2 separate regions of the Homo sapiens genome follow, and region 2 is linked to region 1. Evidence: promoter capture Hi-C in 16 types of primary human blood cells and fetal thymus (Javierre and others, 2016). All regions are on one chromosome and are shown on one strand. The core of a region is centred on a gene start or on the middle of the fragment in contact, and the rest is flanking DNA. Distances in the headings are between cores, read along the strand shown.

Region 1 (7,646 bases), core at 2,253-4,752:
ATAAGCAAATAGTACACTAAGGTCTCATCTTTCATATTTAGCAAATTACACTTGAGATTAGCCTAGGTACTGGTAAACAAATAGGTAGGAGAAGACTACTTAACATTAAAGAGGAATAGTCTAAAGTCTAAACTTTCTTTTTCTTTTTTTTTTTTGAGATGGGGTCTCGCTCTGTTTCCCAGACTAGAGTGCACTGGTGCAATCTCGGCTCACTGCAGCTTCCGCCTCCCAAGCTCAAGAGATTCTCCTGCCTCAGCCTCCCAAGTAGCTGGGATTACAGGCACCCACCACCACGCCTGGCTAATTTTTGTATTTTTAGTAGAGATGGAGTTTCACCATGTTGGCCAGGCTGGTTTTGAACTCCTGACCTCAAATGATCCACCTACCTCAGCCTCCCAAAGTGCTGAGATTACAGGCATGAGCCACTGCGCCCGGCCTAGACTAAACTTTCAAAGTAACTTACAATAGTTTATATTAAATTTTTTGTTAGTATAATGAGACTTAATTTTTTTAGAAAAATCCTGAAAACCATGTTAAATGTAACATTGTTTAGAAATATCTTCTATGTTATTCCTTAAAAATCTGTGAATGAGTGACAGATCCTTATTTGACCTGTCATCAGAATCAATTTTTCTTTTATTAATATACTTCACTAATGAACAAAATCATGTACTATAGTTTACCTAGAAATAAAATGCCAAATAATTGCAAATAAAGGTTTTAAAAAGTATGTCACTTAAGGATCCGGACTTCTCCAAAATGAAGTAAATGTCCTTACATCTTTAGTACAAAAACTATCCCCACATTTTACATGACGTGGAAAACAGGATAAACATTGATGTCAAATGCCTGAGAACAACATTATATTTCACTGCTCCAGGACAGACAATTTTTCTGTGCTCTATTCCAGAAAGAGAAAAGGAGAAAAACGAAACAAAACAAAAAAACCTTGTAATGGTTGCAGTTTGTATTAACTTCAAAGCTGGTATTTCTTTCTCAAAGATCATTTTCTTTTTGTCTTTCAAAAAGCGGGGGGTTAGAGTAGGAAACCTCATAAAAATCAAACATTGAAGAATACGTTGTTGAGAAAGCACCTGCAAAGTATTTTCAGACCTTTTAAAAACGATGTAATTTGAATCACCTGTCTAAATAGGTCATTTAACTTAGAAAAATTAAAATTAGCTGTGCAGGGTCAATTCTTTTTCTACAGCATCTGCATGTGTGTGTCCTCTTCAAAGTCAAACCAGAGCTAAGTGTCAAGAACAGCCATAATACATGAATTTATTCCAAATCTTAGTTATTCTGCTTGAAATGGCCATAAAAGTTAACTTTATATATAAAAACATAGAGTGAGGAATTGCTAGAAAAAGTTGGGGATGGGGGTGCAGAAGGAGACGCAGAACTCCCCGTTCAGGAGATAATGGTATGTGTAAAGGAGGGAGTCTCTACTGCTGCTCATTTCTTGCTTTTCACATACACACTTTTACAATATATGGCAAATCAATATCAGGCGAGCCAAAACACAAAATAAATACTTTCACACAAGTGTAGTCTCCCACAAGCTTCTCTTTCCTTATCAAACTAGCAATATAGGACTATGAACCTTAACGCTATTGTCCAGCACCTTTAAGTATCTACTCATCCTACAACACTCTGTCAGGGATTGAATCCCTCTCCCCAGAAAACCTTCCCAGGAATAGAATAAACGACAAAATCTTGAAACATCTTAAAAATGAGAACAGTAAAAGAAAACGCAAATGAAAACTTTAGCTGCCTAAGATATTCAGTGCCCTTCTACAACCAGACCATCCATAAAATCAAAAGGACCTCAACAATGTTGGAACAGAAATGTGTCACGACCACTGGACCCTTGACTTTAGAAGGGAGGGCATCCAAGCTGGCTGGCAGAGAGGCAATCGCCATCAGGGGAAGTACAGCAAGGAGTCAGTTTTGTTTCAGGACTCTTCAAAGTCACCAGGAAATGTACCCCATCCTTTCTGGGTTAAAAGTAACTTTGATGCACAGAAAAAAAGTACTTTCATATCCTCCAGCTAGCAACAATTTATCATCCACAGGGAAAGAGTGATCGGAGATGCTAATGAAACATTCTCCTCTCTGCCTACTTCCCCAAAGCCACTTCCCAAAAATGAGATCTTGAGGAATCTTGATTTACTAAAGACTTCTGTTTAAAGATGAAATGGAAGGAACTTTGCACGGACAAGGAGGCAAACTGAAGACTTGACATTGAGGAATTGCGAAAGAATGTTCTAAGCTACATTCTTCTTACAAGGGGAAACCCAAAACAGAATTAAGATCTCTTCACCTCCGGATGGAGGAGTAAACATATTTAACTGCCCGGGATGGAAAGAAACAGTATCACTCCAGCCACCGCCCCCCGCCCCCTTTCCCAGGATCAATGACAGAAATAGTCCCAGCAGCGAGGGGCAGGGCAGGCTGGCTGCTCCTTCCACTATGACCTCTCCAAATCCGCTTTTCACTTCGCCCTGTCAGTCCCTCCTTAGTCCCTCAGCACGGAACCCCGGCCCCATCTCTCTAAGCGGCCACTTCTCCACCCACCATCCTTAGTTCTGAGCGGACTCGGCCCCACAACCGCCCTGCCTCCGGGGCGTCCCTCTGAGTGGGCGTCCCCCACACTTGGGAGGCTCACGAAAGCCCCGGGACGAGGCGCCAGCGCCGGGGCTGGGGAACCCCGGGGGTTCCGGCCTCGCTGGGCTCCCGCCCCCCACACCTCGACGCCTGAGCGGATTAGGCGGCTTGGCTCGCAGCGGCGCGCACAGCCCCCGTCCCTCCCACTCTGGCCCCTCCCCGGCTCGGGCGCCCCGGGGTCCTCCGCCTCCGCGGAGGTGAGCGCGCACTCACCGGAGGTGAGCTGCATCCAGGCACATATCTTGTACACAGTGGCCGTGTTGCAGAAGAAGAAGAGGGTAAAGCAAATGATGCAGGCAATGATGAGCATCATGGAGAGGCCGATAAAGAAGGAGGCGGCTTTGAAGGCGCCCGAGGGCAGCGTGGAGAAGTCCGTGAAGCTGCCCCTGCAGGTCAGCTCCCGGGAGAAGCCGTTGCCGATGCAGTAGTGGAAGAGCCCGAAATAGCCGGCTTGCGGGGTGTCCACGCCGTCGCCTATCCAGTAGGGCTGGATGAAGCACACCACGTTGACGATGGCAAAGCAGATGGTGAAGATGGCCCACAGCACGCCGATGGCCCGCGAGTTCCGCACATAGTTGGTGTGGTACAGCTTGGCAGCCTCCTGAGCCGGGAGCATCGCGGCGGCGGCGGCGGCGGCAGCGGCGGCGGCTCCGGGCATTCTCCCCCTCCTCCTCCTCCTCCTCCTCCTCCTGGTCCTCCGCCTCCCCCCGCCTCTCAGCGCGCAGGAGACACACTCACGGAGCCTCGCGCGCTGCAACTCCCCTGCCTCCGCCTCAGCCCAGCAGCACCAGTTTCAGAGTCTGCATCCTCGCTCCCGGAAGGAGGGCGGGGGAGCGCGGAGCACCCCTCCGGCTCGCCTGGCACAGCCTCCCGGCTCCCCTCCCTCCCTCCTGGCCCGGGCTCCGGCCCTCCTCACCACCCTCCACCCCTCTTCCCGCCGCCGCCGCTGCAGCTGCTGCAGCTGAAGGCGGCAAATCCCTCGTGGAGCACCGCGGCGCGCAAGCCCGGGGCGCCTCCCGCTCTGCTTCCCGCCTCCCTCCCCGCTGCCCGGCCCGCGCTGCCAGTGCCCAGGGGCGCAGAGGACAGTGACGACCCCGGAACGCCCATCAAGGGGTGGACATGAGCCAGAGAAGTGGGCCTGGATTAGGAGGGCGAGGGTAGTCTAAGAAGGTGGCAGGAGCACCCACAGGGATCCTAGAGACAACCCCAGGATCCTGGTGGGTGTGAGAGGCCGGGCTCGAGAGGCTGATTCAGCGAGCATTTCATCACCGCACAGAAACGTGCTTCGACCTCTGCATCTTTGCAGAGGCACGAGGGGCAGCGCGGCAATTGCAGGCAAGAGGCGCCAAGGCAGTGGAGGCATACAGCCCCCAAGAGTCTTTCTTGTTACCACAGAACTGCCCCTGGCTAACTCCTCGGTTGCCTTCAGGTCCACAGGTGGAGATAGAAGTTGCGCAGGAGCCTGGCAGACAATAATGTAAAAGACAAATCTCAAGGGTGGTCTCACATCAAGCACAGCTGAGCTTGCGTCCTCTTTGCGTTTTTCCCCCAAGCAGCCAGCTGAACTGTAGCCAATGGATGCCCCATACTTTCCTTTAGGTCGTTTCCCCGATAATTCCTTCCATAGATTGGGCCTGTGTGTGCTTGGAAGGGACTGTGTCACAGAATTTTATAGTTTGTTTGAAAACAGGGTAGTTCGGCCAGTGTTACACTTACTATACAAATATTGACAGCTACTCTGTGCCCAGACGCTGAGCTGGGTGGTAAGGGTACAAAAAGACATAGCAGATGGTTAATTGTCCAGGAACTTCCATCTCCCCCTACAACCCAAAGCTAACCAGAGAGCTGTTTTCAGGCTAATTTATCCCGGAATTACCACTATAGAATTCCTTACATTTTCACATGGCATTGCTGTTGTACACCTGCCCTTCGTGCTGTTTCCTTAGCTTATGTTTTCCCTTTTAACAGTCTTTCTGTTGCTCTTTTAACAGTTTCTACTTTTCAAACTGCATTTCCCTATTTCCGTTGGTTTTTTTGTTTGTTTCCTTCTGATTCTGATATAAAGAAACATGTAACTGCCTCCCACCCCCAGCCATGAAACCAGAATGCTTAATTGTAGGAGTGGATTTTGGTAACAAATCGTTTTGAACCATATGATCACAGAATTTTCTGAGCATTTCTATCAGAGAGAATTCTGATAGAATTGGACCCTAAGTCTTACCTAATTGGCTATATCAACGGCTATTCTATGGTAGAAGGGTCATAACCTAAGTGATGAAAATTATGCTTTTCATTTGATAGTCTGAAGATTTGAGATTCTATGAAGAGGGAGGGGGAGAAAGTGGAATAGGGGTGTGAGACACATAAGATAATGAAGGGGCTGCTGCTGAAACTGGGGAAAGCATCTAAAAGCATGAGTTTTCAGAATCTTCCATTCAGTTTTTTCTATAGGCATGTAATTCATGTATTGTAATACATGTCCATCAGACAAGGTCCATCTTATACAAGGTCCATTGTAATACAAGGTCCATCAGACAGAGCTTTGAAAATCAAGAGAACAGAATTAAACAGTAGCATGAGACATGTAAGATTAAGTGAGTAAGAATTTCTAGCAAGTGTGGTTGTAGACTCTCAGAAGGTCTTCAAAATAAATATCAGAGGGATTTGGAGGAGGTGACAAAGATGACCAAAATATGAGTTAGCCCAATATAACACTTGCAAGTCTCTAAAAATACAGTTCATGATGATGCATCTTGAGTGCATTGGTGGCAGTGGAGGGTCAGAATTTCTGTTAGGTTTCATTTGTTTTAACTCTCCTGAAGTTGCTGGTAAATCAGAAGAATTTTAACATGGAAAGAGAAAAAGGAAAGGAGAATAATCAGATTTATGAGGCCATTTGGCAGGCCATGCGTCCCAGGGGCAGAGATAGCTTTACAGCAAGAACTGACAGTAATTTCTAGTAACTCTCTTAAGCCCTCAAATCCCCCAAACCTGGTTGTATGAAGTAGTCTCTCTTTAAAATAAATGCCTGAAAGAAATCTTACTGTTTCCATGGGGTGGTTGAGATGTGAGGTGGCTGAGAAGGGAAGGCTGAGAATCAAAAAGCCTGGTTTATACCTCAATGCTTGAATTGCCTTTATGGGACAAAGAAAAGACTGGTGGGTGACTCAGATTCAAATGTGATTCAAAGAGCTTTTCTACTTGAGTCATGCCCAAGGAAAGCCTTATTCTCATTCCAGGTTTGGAATCACCTCTGGGTTCATGTTCAGAATCACCATGCCAAGGGGCACACTCAAAGTGTCCACTCTTGTCAACAGCAACTAGGATCAGACCAGTGTTGGTGTATTGCTGATCTAAAGTGCTCCCATTCCCTCTGAGAATTTGAGTTGTTGCCTCTTGAAGTTAGGGTCAGTTGGGGATGAACTGGACTCTGTCAGTGGCCCTTCTCTCTACCTTTACCCTTCCCTGTACTACAGCAGATTTTCAGGATGAAGCAGAATCTTTAAAGACTCTAGCAACTAGGGATGAGCTAAAATACCTGTGAACTCCTGGCTTGCTATAAATGAACGCAAGATATTCTTCTACCCTTTCCCAAACCCCTTTGTCACCCACCCCCCAACTTTGTCCTTAGTAACCAGGAATCCCAGAGGTAAGACAATTTCTACCCTTAATCTAAAACTTTTGGCTTGCACCCTGTACACTTTAGGAGTTGTGACAGCTAAGCATCTGGGCAACTTATTGCACCTCATTAAATCTGATGTGACCAGGAAAGCTGCTTTGGGGAGGAGGAAATAATAAAACTGGCCTGATTCATGCTAAGAAGTTGCTATTGATAGAAAAGTATTTTGATACTATAACATGATTCATATGTGCTAAATAACTAGAAGCCAGTGTCATCGACAGCATTGAATTAGAAACACTGAACACACAAATCTCAAACTTCACTGTTAAGATGTTTTTCTGTGACTGCTGCAAAGGGTCAGTGTTGAGACCCACACCCTCACTTTTTGCAAACTGTGTCTCAATGAATGTTAGGACTATACAAGAGAAAGCAACAAAAGAAGAATGGGGGCCTTGTAACACTGCAAAAAGATCCTGGGTAAGGTAAAGAGCTAAATATTTTGATCCCAAACTAATCTGAGACAGTATGGGAGAGCGTGAAAGCCTTAGAGGACAAGAGGCTTGGGATCCGGACCTAGCACCATCTTTGTCTAACTACGAAAGCCCAAGGATCTTAGGGATCCATTTTCTCATCTCTAAAATTATGGTGAAGGAAAAAGGACCTCAGATGTTTCCTGAGCTGCCTTTCTGCAGCAGCTTTATTCTATTCTATGAATACTCTTCCAAGATAACTTTGAAAAAAAATATAAAAAGAGAGATAACAACCCATCACTTGGGGAAAAAATTAGTCGAGACCTAAGGAATATATATCAGACGTGGTGAAATAGACATTTTCTTTAAAATTGAAAACCCCTTCTGAAATCCTGTCGGTATAATTTTTCAAGCAATGGCTGCTTAGAGTTTTCAGATGAGTCATTGCTATGACCTTGGATAATGGAGAAAGAGATGATTTCTAGAATCTGTTACTTAATCGATTTTTAGGGCTATTGCCAAGGTCAGTATCAGATTCCACTCCAGAATATAAAGATTTTAATAACGAAGCTCTTTTCACTCATCAAGGCTTTCCTCTGCTCTCCTTTAGTTTTCTTTTAGGGATTTTCAGAAACCAGGAACCACCTCTTAGATAATCAATCACTAAGTTAGCAGTGGCAATCAGATAGATTGAGTATTTCAACTCTCCCTGCAAATCAAGACCAAATTCATCATAGGACTCTGAATTCATTGCACCTTGGTCTGTGTAGAACTCCAAATGAGGGGGAAAATGGGAAATAGAAATGCCAGGCTTTCTCCTTCTTTCCTTTTCTCCTCTATTTTGAATTGGATTATGTGTAAATTGCCCCTTTCTTTTTTTTTAAATT
Region 2 (7,646 bases), core at 2,010-4,509, 530 kb before region 1:
ACAGTCCTGAAACACCTGTAATGTTAAATGGGCTGAGGAAAACTCTGTACACAGTTTTTATATTGATGGTGAGATACTCTGGTTTGCATTCAGCCTTCATAGCAGGAAGTAACCTGGGACACAGCTAGAATTTACCTACTTGACTTTAACTTGATTTTAACTGCCACAGAAGCTGCTGTGTAGTAATGATTGCAAACCACAAGCCCCGTTTCCTGTGGAATTTTCAGCTAGAAAACTCCCCGCTGCTCTTGTGCATAGTTTCAGTCTTTATTTATTAGGAATTACACCGAGGGTGCCAGTTTTGGGAGCTCAGTAAATTTTACCATCATCCAGAAAGGAGGAAAAAGACTAACATTAACACATCAAAACATGTTAAAAATTACAATTCTCCAGATTTCACGACAAAGAGGATTCAGTTTCAAATCTACTGCCCCCAGGAGTGGTTTTGGTTGAGTAAGAACAGTCAAATTGGCAGAGTTGTTCTGACATCACAATAATGCAACAAGGTTGGAAATTAATTTTCCTGGGAGCATTTTAGAAAGGCATGCCAATAGCCTCAAGGAAGTTGGGGGTTCTGAGTTCTAATTCTGAACTTTCTGTATAACTGGATCTCAGTAACTGGGAGCTTCTTGAGGCACACATTTATTCATCTTGTATCCCCAGAGCCTGGTATAAGGTCTGGCATATGTTGTATACTTCATGAATCCATAATATAGAATGAGTAAAATAATATAGAATGAATCACTATTGGAGTAGAAATTAGTTGGATGTATGATATTATATTTGCATTTGGTGGCATCATTGTGATATTATATTTGCATTTGGTAGCATCATTTCCTGCCCCGCCTTATTATGGAAAGGAAAACTGCCGTGGTAGCGGTGAATAAAAAGCCTTCGTTCCAGAGGCAGATTGCTGGCAGTGCGTCCTTGCTGCATCGCCTACTAGTCAAATAGGCTCACTGAGCTATGGTGTCCTCATGTGTACAATGAACGTCTATGAAATGGGAACAATCTGCCTGTACCTACTTCATAAGTTATCACGCGGGTGAAATGAGATAATATAGGCAAAGACCCTGGCATACAGCACAATCACAAAAATGCAAGGAAATTGGGATTCTGTTAGCTGTTATTATTACCTTTTTTGCTAAGCCTCTCAAATACTCACTTTTCATCCTATTCTTGCAGCCTGAGATTTTCTGATGTATACTGAACATGCAGGGTATCAATGCTCATAAAGAAGCTCTGAAGATCAGTTAATGTACAGAACCTAGCACAGTATCCAGGTCATAATACACCTTACTATAATACACAGTACCCAGGTCACAATACATGCTTACTGAAAAGGGGAATGTTGAAAGAAATTTGCTTTCAATTTCTGGCAATTAAAAAACATACAATTTCATTCTACTAAGCAAGTGATTTAAAGATTCTCACGTGTACAATATAATTTTTGGATCCTTAGATTTAATAATACACTGAAATTAGTGAAAGTGTCTAGAGGTTGGTGGTTCTCAAATTGCACCACATAAGAGCCTCCTGGTTAACTAAAATATTCTAGAGTTGGCCGGGCTCAGTGGCTCGTGCCTGTAATCCCAGCACTTTGGGAGGCTGAGGCAGGTGGATCACGAGGTCAGGAGTTTGAGACCAGCCTGACCAACATGGTGAAACGCTGTTTCTACTAAAAATACAAAAATTAGCTGGGTGTGGTGGCGGGTGCCTGTAATCCCGGCTACTCGGGAGGCTGAGGCAGGAGAATTGCTTGAATCCGGAGGCAGAGGTTGTGGTGAGCCAAGATGGCGCCACTGCTCTCCAGCCTGTGTGACAGAGCAAGACTCTGTCTCAAAAAAAAAAAAAAAAAAAAAAAAAAAATTTCCTGGGACAGAATCAGGAGATCTGGGCAGAGTGCAGGCATTGGCATTCTAAACCAATCCCCCAGATGGTTCTGATATTATACTTTGAGGCAGCTGACAGGCCTCCTTTGAGAAACTCCCGGGGTTACTGAAGAATGTGACAGATGCTCATCTAAATGCAGGAATCTCTTTATTCTTTTACTATTAGTTTTCCTTCTTTTTCTCACATGGGTAAAAGAATAACAGGACTGAAATTATCTTCAGTCATAGATGGGGTTGGGAGATTCTGGGCCAGGCAAGTTTTGGTGTTGTGCAAGCATGGACACGCTTAAAGGATTTGCTATAAAGATCTGGAGTTAATTTGGCTCATGCCTGTAATCCCAGCACATTGGCAGGCCAAGGCAGGCAGATCACTTGAGGTCAGGAGTTGGAGACCAGCCTGGGCAACAAGGTAAAACCCAGTCTCTATTTTAACTGGTGTGGTGGCGTGCACCTGTAATCCCAGCTACTCGTGAAGCTGAGGCAAGAGAATCACTTGAATCCAGGAGGTGGAGGTTGCAGTGAGCTGAGATTGTGCCACTGCACTCCAGACTGGGTGACAGAGCGAGGCTCCGACTAAAAAAAAAAAAAGAAAGAAAAATCTGGAGTTATTTGGATATCCATATGTCTGAAAAACATCCAGAAGGGTATTCTTTTGGATTGTTAAGCTAGGAGCATATCTGTTTCTCTAGTCTGACATTTCAGGAGGATTGTATTTTCTCCTCTGGATGAAAGGAAGAAATATTCTGCAACACCATTATACATAATTCAAAATCCAAGAGAGCTTAATGTGAAACATAAGAATGTGACTTGCAGTCACACTCCAAGTCCAAAAAGAATGCATCTTGATCAGCATTAAAAGTATATCACTGGAAAATAAATGGTAGGTAGGCCCATCAGTCTGCAGGGGTGATGTCCTGTGTATTTTGATAATGGATTTCTCTAAGGATTTAAGCTCCCCCAGTCTGGGCTCCACACTTAACCTCCAGGTGAGGTCATTGGTCTGTTCCATCATGACACGGTGTCTCACGGTATCGCTCTCCCCTCCTCACTAATCTGTTCTCATAAATGTCTTGAAACGGTCTTAAGATTCAATTATTAATGAGAACCAATTTAACAGGCTGCTGATGCCAGGAATGAAGTTTTTTCAATTTGCAAACCTGGGATAAGCTGATCAAGGAGAATGGTACAATTTCACAGGAAATACATTAAGCTTCCCACGCCAGACTAAAGAGCTTACTGAGGTTCACAAAAGTGCAGAGAAAGGTGTGTTTGGGTGGATACGTTAATAGTCAATGGAGAGTAATTATGAGAAATTATACGCCATTGCAGGCCTCACTTTATATATAGTTTTTTTTTGACCTGGGAGGAAGGGCCAAGGTGCTGTACTCTCTCTTTAAAAAATATCATTTAAAATGTAGCCCTGCACATTTTACTTAGACAAATGGTGCTACAGAAGTGATATTTTCTTAATTTTGCTTTATTCCCTTTTTTTCATACTGAAGCTATGAGAAATTACAAGCTTATTAATTGTCATTTGAGGTGCTAGACTTCAGACCGGAAGGTGATAAATGACCTAAATCATTTGTAATATGCTGGAAGTATGGACAATCTGTGTTGAGTATAAGAAGATACATTGTTGAAGAGAGTCTCTCATAATTAATGAATAGATCTCATATTGCCCTGTGCATATAGGAAGTTACCAGCTAGAGTATGCCATCCTGAAATACATTTCTTCAGTATAAGGATAATTTTGAGCTGATTATTTTGAGAAACTGCAGACACAGGAGAAGCTCTGAAGACAGGGTAGGAGTTCCCTTTTGTAAGGGAAATTCACATCCAGAAAGGAAATCTCCATTCATGAGGGTGAACTTCTGTATTGAGTAAAGAAGGATGACTCTAAGTCAGACTTATCAATGAAGAATGCACTCAAATATGGATAACAAACCTTCCACTTGTTTACCATGCTTTTCCTGGTCACCTCCCTCTAACTGGCCCTTGCAATACCCTCCTTTCTTTGTTTCAGCTGAAGATGGTATTTAAGCCTGAACTTAAAGCCACCTCTTTGAAATTTGCTCATGTCTCTGGGTATCTCCTATGTATACGTGAAGTTATGTTCTTAAACTTCTGTTTGTTTTTATCTTGTTAACCTGTCTTTTATTACAGGGGTTCATCCTAGCTAAGAACTCAAAAGGGTAAAAGGAGAATTGTTTTTCCTCCCCTGTGATGCTTGTCTAAATGCAAGCACCTCTTTGCTTTTTACTTTTAAGTTTCTTCCTTTTTTTCTCTGGTGGGTAAACAGATAATCAGATTGAAATTACCTACAGTCAGAAATTGGGAACTGTTTTCCCCCTACAGGATTAGAATTTCACCTCTAACATTGTATAGAGGCAAAGATGATTATCTCCAAGTCAAGGTGGAACTAGGCTGCAGATAGGACCAGCTACATAATTTGCAGATCCAGTGTTAAATGAAAATTGTTCAAAAAGCAGGAAAAAGTGCCATTAAAGGTACTAAAATACAAACATTTTCCCTTTTTCCTGTGGTCCCTCTCATCTTGTTGTGGGATTTTGAATATATACTTTTAAATGTCATTCTAAGTAAATAAAAATAAATCAAATTAGCACTAATTTACCATTCATTTTTATTTCATGCAATGCCAGTTTAAATGCAAATGTCAGAGCATTTAACTCATCTGTACAATCACTGAAGTCACGCAGTCTGCATTTTTGTCCCTGGAAGGTGCTGTGTGCTGGCCAGAAAAGGCAAAAACAGACATATTCCAGAAGGTTGGAAGGAGGGAGAGAAAGATCCCCCAGGCACAGAGTAGGCTCAAGTGAACTGGCTGAAAGCACTCCCTCTGGCATGGGGGTACTTAGGATCCTCACAGCCTGTCACTCAGGACTGATGGCTTTTTAGATTCTCTCTCCCACCAGCTGCTGGCCCAACTCATTGTCCCCTGACTCGAGGAACCTCCCCTTCTCACTGGTGGTATTCCCAACCCAGGGCAGACAAATGACCCCAAGGGTATTCTAACATCTCTACTAGGTAACTGGATCGAGGTGGGCAATAGGCTTGCTCCTCGTTGAGCTCTGGACTCTGTCCACTGTCCACCAGACACACTGCAGCACTGCCAGTCCTGGGCAGGGACAGACACTGCTATGCCCTGCCCCGAGATGCTTCAGGATGGGTACGTTCAACTATGATCCTCCCCTCTGTGCCCAAACTCCTGCCTCGGGCAGACGGTGGCAGTGGTTACTGGGCAGGCACAGGGAAAGCAGGCTGGTCAGGGCTCAGGGTTTCAGGGTTCAAGAGAGTGGGCTGAGAACCCATCTGCCGGAAGGTGGGGGTGGGACTGGGAAGAGGGTGGAGGGAGGAGGAGGCAGCAGGAAGCTGGCCCCATGAACAGTCTCCATGCCCCCATGCCCCATGCTCCAGTAGCTCACTGTCCCATCAGAGTTCACTTACAAAACACACATTCAAAGATACGACTATTAACAATGTCAAGACTGGGGCTGCAGAGCTTTAAACCAAAAGCATGGGAGCCCTTGTGAGCTTGGGTCCCTGTGGGACTGCACTGGTCATGTGGCCCTTGTGTAGGAGCAAAGAACATGGAGCTGGCCCTGGGGGCAGGAGCAAAGGACAGGTAAGTGAGATAAAAGTCAGAGCTTCCTGCCAGCATGGCCAGCCTGGCCTATTCCCAACTCCCAAACAGGATTCTTCCTAACCAACCAGGACAGCTCTGTGAAGACTGGCTTTGCTCTCTGGACAAAAGCCTTCTCTTCTCTTTACTACTGCCCTACTTTCAGCATGGCCCTCCTCCTCCACCTCCCTTTCCTGCCTAGTGTCCTGATCCCCACTGCTGGGGGCAGCAGGCTGCACATTTCTGGACACTGAGTAAGTTTAAAATTCAAATCATTTGTGGCTTCTCTTTGGATTTTCCTTTGCTGCTCTGCCCTTTCTTGTTTCCCTTCTCTCTCTGTGTCTGAGAGAGGGGAGATCTGCCTTTTAATTATGTCTTACAGTTAATTAAGGTGGCATTCCCTGACTGGTAGGATGCACATGGCTTCAGCAGTTAATGCTGGTGAGGCTCTTTGAGCTCTTTGGGGTGTGTGTGAGGGTTGGGGGGTATCTGCTTTCCAGGATGTGGGCAGCCTAAGAAAAATGAGAGGGAGAGGGAAAAAAGTTGGTGGAAGTAACAGAAGCATGGAAAAGGTGGGAAAAGGAATGTGGGTAAATGGATAAGGAAAGGAGACAGAAGGGAGGAGGAAGGAATGATGGAAGGACCCAGCTTTTCTCCTGCTCTGCCCACGTGGTTTGAAAATAGAGGCTTGAGCCTGAGAAAGCTACGGCCCAAGCAGATGGTATCTTTGCAGTGCTGGTGCCTGGGCAATGTGGATCTTAGGTCACGGGTGACAAGGAGCTTCAGCGCCAAGTCTCTTACTTTGCTCTTGTCAAATTCTTGAAAATGTGACTCTGTATCTTTAGTTCTCTTGGGGTACATCCAAAGAAATCAGTACCCCATGAAGGATTAGATAGGGGAGATAAGTGATACAGAAGAAGAATCTCTTCTGGAGCTCCCAGTAGGCCCAGAGCTGTGTTGAGGAGAGTTGGGACTTTATATTCACAACAATCTTCACAAATATGAACTTAATTTTTCCAGGGTGACCAATGCGTTGGCCGTATAAGCCAAGTATACTCATAACCTCAGATTTTGAAAGCCATTTTTTTCCCTAGCAGTTTCATAATCAGCTATCCTCTTGAGTCCTATTGGGAAAGCATCACTAAATCTCCAACTCTCCAAGAAGGAAGGGGCAACTTGCTCTCTGATGGACTCACAGCCTAGAGATACCTCATGGCTTCTTGGTTGAGCCCAGCCAACCAGCCCAGAGACTCAGACTCCCAAGATGTATCCCCATGCTCAGAAAACACCCAGCCACAGGCTTCCTGTTCTTTCTTTTCTCTCACTAATTCATATTTCTTTCCAGAGAAATATTTCTTTTTTGAGTTATGATGCAGATACTACTGAGATGTTCCTTACAAGGGGAGCAAAAACTAATGTGTCAAAGTAAACATTACAATCCCATCTGAAGACTTGGAACACTATGATATACTTGCTGAGATCTCTTTCATGACTGGCAAGACATGAGAACAATATTTATCTCTAAGAGAAGGTAAAATTACTAGCAAAGGTGGTGCTATTCCTTCTAGAGCAGAATCTGTCAAAGTGGTGGCCTGTGGGTCTCCCACATCAGAAGTACCTGGAATGATGGTCAAAAAGCAGATTTATGCACGCCACTGCAGAACTTCTAAATCTCTGTGGGTGAGGGGTCAGAACCTACATTTTAAATACTGAGAGTTTTACTCTTCTATCTATAGTCATTTGAGAATCAGTGTTTGGAGCAGTGGCTCTCAAACCTTGGCGGGGGTGGGGGGGTATCTCAGAATCACCCAGAGGGCTTATGGAATACAGATTCCTGGGGCTCACCTCCACAGTTTCTGATTTAGCAGGTCTGGGGTTTGAAAACTTGCGTTTCTAATAAGTTTCTGGGCAATGCTGCTGGTCTGGAGACTACATTTTGAGAACCACTAGTTTGGAACAATTAAAACAATTTAGTTTCATGTCAGTCAGGTGTAACCTACTTCCTGTCCTGGGGAAGCCCTCTGCATCAGGGTGTTGGAGGTAGTGGTGGTGCTGGGCTTGTTTTCTGTCTGTCTAGGAGGTGGATGTCTGGGGAAGCAGTTGTTGGGGCTCAG

What was found. Contacts are between HindIII fragments. The CHiCAGO score rates a contact against its expected background, and 5 or more counts as called.
Region 2: a contact is called between a fragment that was not itself captured here and the fragment with the promoter of LHFPL3 in region 1, in 1 of 17 cell types (endothelial precursors). The highest score is 5.8, in endothelial precursors.

What each region holds. Positions count from the first base shown.
Region 1 is chr7:104,324,459-104,332,104 of GRCh38, reverse strand. LHFPL3 (LHFPL tetraspan subfamily member 3) reads right to left here and starts at 3,502. Exons shown (of 3, transcript NM_199000.3): 1 at 2,881-3,502. The coding sequence starts at 3,325. The HindIII fragment of the contact is 14,292 bases long and covers 1,565-7,646 here.
Region 2 is chr7:104,850,464-104,858,109 of GRCh38, reverse strand. The region is part of intron 2 of LHFPL3 (LHFPL tetraspan subfamily member 3); the gene reads right to left. Among named protein-coding and RNA genes, the nearest start is that of LHFPL3-AS1, 50 kb to the right of the region's middle. The HindIII fragment of the contact is 309 bases long and covers 3,105-3,413 here.